Regions from separate parts of the Homo sapiens genome. Here region 2 is linked to region 1. Evidence: promoter capture Hi-C in 16 types of primary human blood cells and fetal thymus (Javierre and others, 2016). All regions are on one chromosome and are shown on one strand. The core of a region is centred on a gene start or on the middle of the fragment in contact, and the rest is flanking DNA. Distances in the headings are between cores, read along the strand shown. Region 1 holds the start of ZW10 (zw10 kinetochore protein). Region 2 overlaps REXO2 (RNA exonuclease 2).

The links. Contacts are between HindIII fragments. The CHiCAGO score rates a contact against its expected background, and 5 or more counts as called.
Region 2: a contact is called between a fragment that was not itself captured here and the fragment with the promoter of ZW10 in region 1, in 5 of 17 cell types (fetal thymus, non-activated CD4 T cells, total B cells and 2 more). The highest score is 7.7, in fetal thymus.

The regions. Positions count from the first base shown.
Region 1 is chr11:113,770,582-113,775,896 of GRCh38, forward strand. It overlaps ZW10 (zw10 kinetochore protein), which reads right to left and starts at 3,111. Exons shown (of 16, transcript NM_004724.4): 1 at 2,981-3,111. The coding sequence starts at 3,085. RefSeq lists enhancers at 2,842-3,111, 3,242-3,301. The HindIII fragment of the contact is 9,750 bases long and covers 1-3,743 here.
Region 2 is chr11:114,440,852-114,446,166 of GRCh38, forward strand. It overlaps REXO2 (RNA exonuclease 2), which reads left to right. Exons shown (of 7, transcript NM_015523.4): 3 at 3,005-3,082; 4 at 3,690-3,801; 5 at 5,128-5,236. Among named protein-coding and RNA genes, the nearest start is that of REXO2, 4.0 kb to the left of the region's middle. The HindIII fragment of the contact is 192 bases long and covers 2,937-3,128 here.

The DNA of each region.
Region 1 (5,315 bases), core at 1,861-4,360:
CAAGGCAGGTGGATCACTTGAGGTCAGGAGTTCAAGAATAGCCTGGCCAACATGGTGAAAACCCATCTCTACTAAAATACAAATAAATTAGCCGGTCGCGGTGGTGGGCGCCTGTAGTCCCAGCTACTTGGGAGGCTGAGGCAGGAGAATCACTTGAACCTAGAAGGCAGAGATTGCAGTGAGCCAATAACTCGCCACTGCATTCCAGCCTGGGCGACAGGGCGAGAGAGACTCTACCTCAAAAAAGAAAAAAAAAAAAAAAGAAATGATGCTGCACTCTGTGTTTGTGCTCCTGATTTCCCTGCAGGTTCTAGATGAAGGTTGCACGTTGCACACAGGCTCATTAACGTCAGTCTGTACTTCCTCAAGTCGGGGACTTGAGGATGCTATTTTTTTTTTTTTTTTTTTTGAGACAGAGTCTCACTCCGTCGCCCAGGCTGGACTGCAGTGGTGGAGCAATCTCACCTCACTGCAATTTCCACTTCCCGGGTTCAAGCGATTCTTCTGCCTCAGCCTCCAGAGTAGCTGGGATTACAGGCGCCCACCACCACACCCGGCTAATTTGTGTATTTTTAGTAGAGAAGAAGTTTCACCATGTTGGCCAGGCTGATCTGGAGCTCCTGACCTCAGGTTATCTACCCACCTTGGCCTCCCAAAGTGCTGGGATTACAGGCGTGAGCCACCGCACCTGGCTGAGGTTGCGTTTTGAGCATAGGGTACAGAAGCCTTTCTGGATTTGGATGTGGCTGAGGAAAGAAGACAGAAGCCAAGGCCATGCACATAAAATGAGGGGTTTGAGTTAGTACTTACCTGGGCTGGAGTGGGGGCAGGGGGTCCATCTTACAGTAAAATCTTAAAAGAAATTATTTTTAGCCTGTCTCTATTCCTTGGGTGGTTCATTTCAAAGGGTTATTTGCCTCATTCCATATCTTCAGTGAAATCTTACGTGTAATTGTGTGTATGTATTCCACCATGGGAAGAGAGAACACCTGTTTAGTGTTGCACTTTAGACTGGTGTCTTGTTTTGTTAATGCAGCTGTGCCACAAATTCTCCTTTATCTTTTAAAAATGTGATGGCTTTAAATTGATTTTGTTTTTCTTTTTGAGATGGAGTCTCACTCCGTCCCTCGGGCTGGAACGCAGTGGCACAATCTCGGCTCACTGCAACCTCAACCTCCCAGGTTCAAACGATCCTCCTGCCTCAGCCTCCAGAGTAGCTGGGGATTACAGGCGCACACCACCACGCCTGGCTAATTTTGTTAAATTATTATTTTGACAGAGGAATAAATACATGAATTAAAAAAAAGAACAAATTATGCTTGCCCTCAAATTCCTACGTAGTAAAGATACTATATACTTGAGCAACAAGAATACAGGACTGAAATGTAATACAGCAACAAAGTTACAAAGCCTTCCAGGAGCACAAATGAGAAAGAGATCCCCTCTCCCTGAGGGAAGATAAAGATTTTTTTTTATGCAGGAGACATTTGAAATGGAACTTGAAAAATGGGTTTGAAAAATACTACAGGTAAAGATGGAAAAATGGCAACATAAGCAAAATATGGGATTAAAAAAGGGAGGGAGAGCAGAGAAAGTAATTCTCAATTGGCTGAAGATTCAAGTTGGTAAAGGAAACTAGTGAAAGCAAAGAAAGGCATGTTGGGTCCAGAACACGCAGGAGCTAGGGTCGCTTGCCATGCTAGAGTAACTTAAAAACCTGTCCTCTTTCCATCACATTAAACAGTGGTGAAAAATCCGAAAGCCATATTAAAGAAGAGATGTCAGGGATATGACTACTTAAAATTCAGGAAACTACTTTTGTAAAATCAAGAGCTGTTAGGAAGGGTTATACCTGTGCCCTTATGGTGTGTGGCAAACTTGCTCCCTCGAAACCCTACTTGACTCAGATACACAAAATTTTAAATGAAAGCAACTGAAGATGTGGACAAATACTGGCAAGGTAACAATATCAGTACAAAGCAAAACTGTGTGTGGCTACGTGCTTCCAGTTTTTGTATCAATCTCAAGGCAGCAACGTTTACGTAGGTACCAATGACACTCAGCACAGCTTCATGTGCTTGTAGATGAAGTTTTAAAACCACATTAAGAGGCCGGAGACGGTGGCTTACACCTGTAATCCCAGCACTTTGGGAGGCCGAGGCGGGTGGATCACCTGAGGTCAAGAGTTCGAGACCAGTCTGGCCAACATGGTGAAACTCCGTCTGTACTAAAAATACAAAAAAAAAAAAAAAAAAATTAGCCAGGCGTGGTGGCACGCGCCTGTAATCTCAGCTACTCGGGAGGCTGAGGCAGGAGAATCGCTTGAACCCGGGAGGCAGAGGTCGCGGTGAGCCGAGATCACTCCAGCCTGGGCGACAGAGCAAGACTCCATCTCAAAAGATAGATAGATACATAAAAATAAAAACATACTGAGGGTTTGGGTTTGTTTTTTTTTTAATGTCGGGGAGGAGAAAGGTGCAATCCTCCAGGCTATTTTATTCATCAACAAATCAAGGAGTGGGTGGAGGAAATAAACACTCATCGATGGAAGAAGGGGAAGGGGGATCCTGTCTTTTCTATTCCTCTCCTGCGCTCGCTCCCTAGCTTCCTCGGAGCTTCCAGTTGCTCCTCCCGCTCTGCTGGTCTCTTCAGTCTCCCTCTTCCCGCGGCACACCCCTCCCCAACATAACTCCACTCTCCAGTGCTCTCCAGCCACCGCCTGTTCGTCCCCACAGTCCCAGGTCTCCTCGCCTCCTCAGTTCCCAACCCCTGTGTGGGCTCCCCTCCAAGATCCCTCCTCAATCCACACATTCTGGGCCCCTCCACTCCTCATTCAGCCCCCACAACTAGATCTCCCCAACAGGCCCCACTCTGCTGGTCCCCACTCTGTCTGCCCTTAGCCCCTGACTCCTCTCTCCAGTCCCTTCACACAAGGACCCGGAGTCCCCTTCCAGTCAGCAGACAGCTGCCCCGCTCTCACCTTGATCTCCTCCACCCGCCGGGTCAGGCGGCTGATCCGGGTCCCCAGATCCTCCTTTTCCAGCCTCCCGGAGTGTGCCAAAACTTCTGTCACGAACGAGGCCATGGCCAAGACGGGAACCAACGCTGACTGGGTCACTCTCGTAGCCAGCGCCGCAGCTCCCGTCCCGCCGGCCGTCTTGACGCGAGGCCTGCCGGGAAACGGAGTCTCGCGGGCCTCAGACCGCCGCCCGGAAGGCGAGGGGCGCACTACAACTCCCAGCAGGCACCGCGCCAATCCCGAGATGGGATTTCCACGGTGTCCCGTAGTTGGCAAACTGTAAGCAGACGCGTTTTCTTCCTTAGTTGTTTTCAAAGTTCGTTGCTTCCCGCCCGTTTTTCACTGGAGGAAATTAAACGTTTTTAATAACCAGGTCTAACTGAACCTTTCTAAACTTCAAAAGGCTTACTTGTAAAATTATCTAACTGAAAGAGCCAACGAGCCCATCTCGATCTTTTTTCCTCAACTTTTATTGGGCCGCTGTGGCACCAGAATCTACGAATGGCGCCCTCTAGAGTTGTGTAAAGAAGTGGCGTCACCTCATTATAAATAAAAGGTTGCTTATAATTGCATCTATGTACATATATTACATCTACGTGATACATTACACATTTACATTACCTACATTACATATTTATATTACTTAGATATACATAATATTAGTCCTGTGTGAACAAGATACTTAGTACTTTCTGTCATATTATAAATATATAAATGTGTCAAAAGCTTTTAAAAATGGTTTCATTATTTTAATGCATTGCATACAGAAAGATGTTCACAATATTCTATGTATACTATGATTCCTTTTTAAAAACTTAAGTGTATAACCATTGGTCAGAAAACAAAAAGTATGTAAGTATGTATGTAAAGGACAGACATCAAATTATCCTATGGGTGGTGGATTTATGGTATTTATTCTCTTCTCTGCCCTTGCTTTCTCTATTTTTCTGCAGTAAACATACACAGTCCTCCCTTGGTATGGGGGGATTGGTTCCAGAAACCTCCCCTGCCCCAGTAGCAAAATCCGTGGATGCTCAAGTCTCTTACATAAAATGATGTAATGTTTACAAGTAACCAGCACACATCCTCCCCATACACTTTAAATCATCTCTTGATTACTTATAAGACCTAATACAAATCAATCTAAATGCTATAGAGTCGTTATATTGTATTTTGATTTGCATTATTTTTTGTTGTTGTATTGTTATTTTTTATTAGTTTTTTCCAGAATATTTTTGATCTGTGGTTGGTTGGATCCGTGGATACCAAGAGCCAGATGTACTGTTTTGATTAAAAGGTTTTTGGTTTTTTAAAAAGATATATTGTGAGGGTTGACCCCAAGTAGGCACTGACTCTAAGATCCCTGACAATTGTTAAGTGTCTTTGAGACAATCTGCTTATCCCAGTGAAGCAAGGGCCAATTCACATGCCATGAGCAAAGGAAACAAAACTGGGATTGAGAGAGGAAGCACTGAAAACAGCCAAAACATCCTGAGAAACTCCCTTCCTTGGAAAACCAAATCAATTTCTTTTTGGTAGACCTGTCAACTTTGAATTCTAACTGCAACTAATAATAAATGCCCAATGACAAAGAATGACTGATAGATGAAAATTCTGAAACTTTGTACTGCATATTTATTAAGCAATTATCACATAGCAGACATTGTGCTAGGTCTGGGGACCCACAACATGTGAATATATAATCACAGAAAAATATGATAATTACTAATTTGTAGGTAGATGAGGGATGGATCTAGATTTAGTGGAACTTAAATCTTATACAGTTGCAGGGAGGGGAAGGACTCTTTAAAGAAAAGAATATAAAATAATGAATACAAAATTAGATGTCAGCCTTAGAAGGGGCTTGTGCAAGTAATGAGCTGTGAAGTTTAATCTGCCCCTGAGGAAGATGCAAATGGCAGAGGAAATATTGGAGGAAGAGCACCCAGTCTCTGACTGAATTAGAAAGGTTTCACAATGTTAACATTTACAGGAGGCCATCACTTTGGACTGAGTTCCTGCACTAAGCCCAACAGACCAAACCAAAATGGAGTCACTCATGCTAAAGCTCTACTTCGCCAAACCAAAACTAAGCTGTCTGTCTGACCTTCTGAGAAATCAGGAGAATGAGAGATAATCACCAAATTCCCAAACCTGCCAGTTTCAGTCTTCATGATAACGAAGTTCCCTCTGTTTTAATTCTTACAAAAAAGTACCTGAACTAAACTGATGCCAATCAATCAGTTATTTTTCTATTGTTCTGTTTCTCAGTTCCCACCTTACCAGGAAATTAAAT
Region 2 (5,315 bases), core at 1,783-4,282, 670 kb after region 1:
TAAGGTAATGTGCTAGGTCATGGTAGGGGTGGTACTAGAACCAAAGTAATCCATCTCACAGCCTAGTGAAAATTAAAAATTAAACATTATTTTTTAATTAACCATGCCAGAAATTTACAGAAACATAAATTCTGTCGTTTACTGAGCGCTTACTGTATGCCAGCTACAGTTTCTGTGTGCTTTATATGTCTTTGTTCTTAGTTCTCACAGCAACTATAAGTTAGTTATTGTTATAATGCTCATTTGATGGATGAGGACACTTGAGCATAGAGATGTTGGGTAATTTGTCTGAGGTCCCAGTGGCTGTTTACTGGGGGAGCCAAGAGTTTAACTCAGGCTGTCTCAGTAAGGTGCTCCTAACAAGTAGGACAGCCAGCTGTCCTCCCATCAGATTTGGTGACTCGTGCCAATGTTTGCGTCTTTATATCATAACCTTGACTTTAACTTGACTCCATATTTACAATTCTGCCTTTTCAACTAGGACATGTGATTCTTCTAGATCAGTATTAAGATTTTAGAATTTCTGTTAGTGCACACCCGTAAAGTGTTCTGTTGTTGACAGATTGGGCATGATTAAGGTTTTTGCATGCTACTTCCAACTGAAACATTTAGCAAAACAAAACACACCTGCTGCATTTCAGCCACTCATGAAACATTTAATAAGGATGTGACACCATCTGGTAGGGGGTGAAATCCCTGACCCTGAATAATTCTGTTTTATACTGTCAGCAGTATTCAGAGCCAGAAACTCCAGAATAGGAACAAAGTAGGGATGTTTGTGGAAAAGAGAGTCTTGTTAAAATAAGTTCCTAGAGGGTAGCATTGATATGTTACTGGCACTGGATACATTTCGTAAATCTGCAGTTAACACTTTTGTTTGTTTTGCTGTGTAGGTAAAAGAGGTGAGGACGTATTTCTAGATTAATGACTGCGTTTGTGGAGTACCAGGCTTATCCTCCCCACATATCAACTGTAGGAGAATCATGAGACTTTGTACTTCTCATCATAACAACTTTTTTAACTTTGTATAAATAAAGCCCTGAGTTTTAGATTTGGTTGTTTTTTTCTGTTACTTGGGATTTATTGGAGATCAATAGTGAAGAGAAGTGTCTTTATTTTACCAGTCTAACTTACCCTTGGCCGAAGAAGAGTGTTTCCTTTAGACTGTTGATATAATGTGAAATACTGACAGTTTAATGGACCCGTAGGTTGATATGTACCCTGGAGGAAATTTGGGTATGTATTCACACAGCTGCAGATGAATGCAGCATTTGTAAATGGACTAAGTCAGATGAGGATAAAGATGTTAAAAAAAAAAAAAAAGCTTAGGGGCTATCAGTTCTGCAGTATGTTTTATTCTTTTATAAGAGTCTGAGAAAAATGTTTTATGCTGGTAGAAGAGCAGGCATCCTACTCTGAAAATTTTTCTGTAGGTGTGGTCCCTTGGCTTGCTAAATAGGGATCTAAAATAGTTTGTAGTAGTTTGATTTTTCCATCATTGTTAGTATTTTTTTTAATAGTATGAGTATTTTTTTTCATTTTCATAGGTTTGGGTTTTCTTTTTCCTTCGTGACTATCATAAAACATCTGTTATCCAAGCAAAATTTTTTGTTTCTTCGCAGAGATTACCAACACCAGTTTTCTTGTTTGGCTAAATCTCCTTTTTAGTAGTAGGATGTCAGGCGTATTTTAATTAAATTCTAGCCATTTCTTTCAGTGATTGTGAACTGTTTTTACCACCTTAGTAGTAATAATACCTTGGATTTATGGAATACTTTTCTATCAGAGAGTTCAAAGAGCTCATATCTATAATTTCTTTTATCCTGTTAACATTTCTATGAGGGAAGGGGTACAGTTTATTATTATCACTATCTTACAGAGGGAGAAGCTGAGGTGACTTGCTTTAATGCCGTAGCTACTGTTAACTGCCAGGACTTATCTGAGAGACTCATACTTGGATGTTCTATGAAATGGAGCTGAGAATTTGAGGGCTACTTTGTGTTTTGGATATCAACAATTACCTCTTTAATTTTTTTTTAAATATAAAAATACTGTTAAAACAGTGTAACTATCCAAAGTATGTGTGTAGTGAACTATTGGATTTTTGTCCTGTTCTATTGCTCCTTCTTACTCCAAGTTTATGTATTGTCTTGATATTTTGTATGTTTATATAAATGCGTGTTTTTTTTAAAACAAGTGTAAATGAAATCATACCTATACATACATGGTTTTGCAATTGTTTTTTTCACCTGCAATATAGATACTTTTTTTTTTTAAGAGATAGGGTCTCACCCTGTCACCCAGGTTGGAGTGCAGTGGCATGTAGCTCACTGTAACCTCGAACTCCTGGGTTCAAGTGATCTTCCTGCCTCAGCCTCCTGAGAAGCTAGGACTGTAGGGGTGTGCCACCAGGCCCACCTAATTTTTTTTTTTTTTTTTTTAATTTTGTAGAAATGAGGTCTTGCTATGTTGCCTGGACTGGTCTTGAACTACTGGCCTCAAGTGATCCTCCCACCTCGGCCTCCCAGAGTGCTGGGATTACCATGCTTGGCCTAGACACTTTTCAAAATGAACTCATAATCAAGGGTTGACAGACTTTTCTGGAAAGAGCAAGTTATTAAATTGTTTAGGCTTTGAGTGCAGTCATATGTTCTTGTCATATGTTCTTTTTTTTTTTTAAACAATCTTTTACAAATGTAAAAATCATTCTTAGCTTTCTAGCTATTAATAAATAGCTGAAGTGTGGGGCCATAGTTTGCTGACCCTTGATAGATATCTGTGTCATCTATTTGTAGGATTAGAGTTTTCAGTGGTGTGTGTATGTTCGTATGTTCTATTTTGCCTTAATGAACAGTGCTGGAATGAAGGGGGAACACTTAAAGTATCCTTATCTCTTACTTTCTCTGATATGTATATTTAGTCCTTAAAACAGCTTAAGCTTTCCCTCTGAAAGTAAGGTTATTCCTGTTGTTTCTTGGTGACTGATGGCGTTTCCCATCCACAGGGTCCTAACCTGATTATAAAACAACCAGATGAGTTGCTGGACAGCATGTCAGATTGGTGTAAGGAGCATCACGGGAAGGTAACATTACCAAATAACAGGATTGCTGCTTTGGGGATCAGTAGCAAGCTTTTTGCTCCCACACCTGAATCCGATACCATTGTTGGATGGTATTTTAAAAAGGCTTAGAGAAGATTGCATGGCAAGCCTGGGAAACTGCTTGCTTGTTTACTTTTCATCTTTGGGACCTCTCGAGATCATCTTCTCCTGAATGTCCTCTTTTTTTTCTCTCCTACATTCAGTCTGTCGCGAACGCATTGTGGATTGTCAAGTATTACTCAAGTCAGTCTTTTGGATAAGGTTAGACATCAACTTTCAGAGAAGGGGGATTGCTGCTCTCCTGTTAATAGTTGTTTCTTCCCAGAGGTTAATATCCTTGGACTTTGAACACCGTCTTTTTTGACTGTGGACATGCTATTAACAGTCAGGATCATAACTAAGTTGGCTTGGATTCTTGAAGAAAAAAAAATGGTGCAAAGATGGCAGTTGCAATTTGAACTTGAGCTCTAAAAATGGTCTATTTGTGGTTATATTTGCCCATTTTAAAAGTGAAATTTCATTTCTGGATGCCTTTGAAAACTGACTTTACATGTGTTTTTGGTGGGGGGCTGGGGATTCTCTCTTGCAGTCTGGCCTTACCAAGGCAGTGAAGGAGAGTACAATTACATTGCAGCAGGCAGAGTATGAATTTCTGTCCTTTGTACGACAGCAGACTCCTCCAGGGCTCTGTCCACTTGCAGGTAAAATCCAATCCTGTGTATATCTTATAGTCTTCCATATGTAGTGGTTCAAGAGACTGCAGTTCCAGAAAGACTAGCCGAGCCCATCCATGTCTTCCACTTAACCCTGCTTTGGGTTACACATCTTAACTTTTCTGTTCAAGTTTCTCTGTGTAGTTTATAGCATGAGTATTGGGAAAATGCCCTGAAACCTGACATGAGATCTGGGAAACACAAACTTACTCAATAAGAATTTCTCCCATATTTTTATGATGGAAAAATTTCACATGCACAGAGGAGTGGATTTAGTAATTGTTAACCTTGTGTCGTATTTGTTTTACCTATTTTTTGTTGGACATTTTAAAGGAAATTGCAGGCATCAGGACACTTCATTCCTAAATACTTCATCAAACATCTCCTAAGATAAAGACATTTTCTTATGTAATACAATGTCATTGCATTGAAGATAATTAAACATTATTCAGTATCATATGATATCTAGTCCACATTAGATGTTCCCCAAAATATTTGTTTTTGAACCAGGATTCAGTCAAGGCTCGTGCATTTCATTTAGTTATATTTCTTTAGTCTCTTAATGTAAAACTTTCCACCTATTATTTTTCCCCTGTGTCATTGACTTTCTAAAGAGACCAGGCCTGTTCTACCAGGATTTTTAAAAGGGTGACATTGCCAGAGGGAAGTTAATGTTTCTCTGAAGGTATATGTACGTTTGTATATGTAAGTCGATGTGGTAGCTAATACTGTTCTTAAACATTTATAAAAATAAGTTTTGGCATTAAGTACTAGAGCATATATTGTGTAAATGTTTCCGCCAGCCAATGTGGCTGATATCTGTTTTAAAGGTCTCATTTAAAATTTAGTGTTTTTAGTATAAGTTACTTTTTGGGGACATAAATATGCATATGATTTGTTTAAAAATTTGGATTGTAAATAAAGGTTTATCTACCTATGTGATTCAGTTAAATTTTTAGTGTTAGTGGTGTGAATTTTGTGACACTGGGAGAAAGTTTGCATATCAGGTATGACCTTAGAAAGTAACAAATAGATTTGTGCATTACATCAAGCATGTGGAATGATAGATTTGTCCTTCTGTTCATGAGAGGTCATTTACAAATTTATAAGGAGCTAAACTGACTAAGTACTTGGAAATCTGTACTTGTAAGCTAATCACATTTACCCAAACCTGATTTAGAAATATAGAGGTGCTTTTAGGAATTGTTTGAATTTTAAAAAATCATCTCCATTTCAAATACAACTTATGAATTTTGATATCCTGTTGTATAATACTAGAAATATAGAGATGCAGTATGCTTCGTGTCTTTCTAGGAAATTCAGTTCATGAAGATAAGAAGTTTCTTGACAAATACATGCCCCAGTTCATGAAACATCTTCATTATAGAATAATTGATGTGAGCACTGTTAAAGAACTGTGCAGGTAAGGGCTATATTTAGGATCCATTAAATTACCTCATTTAGCATGTTTTAATTGAGAATTTGTGGAAAGTAATTGGATA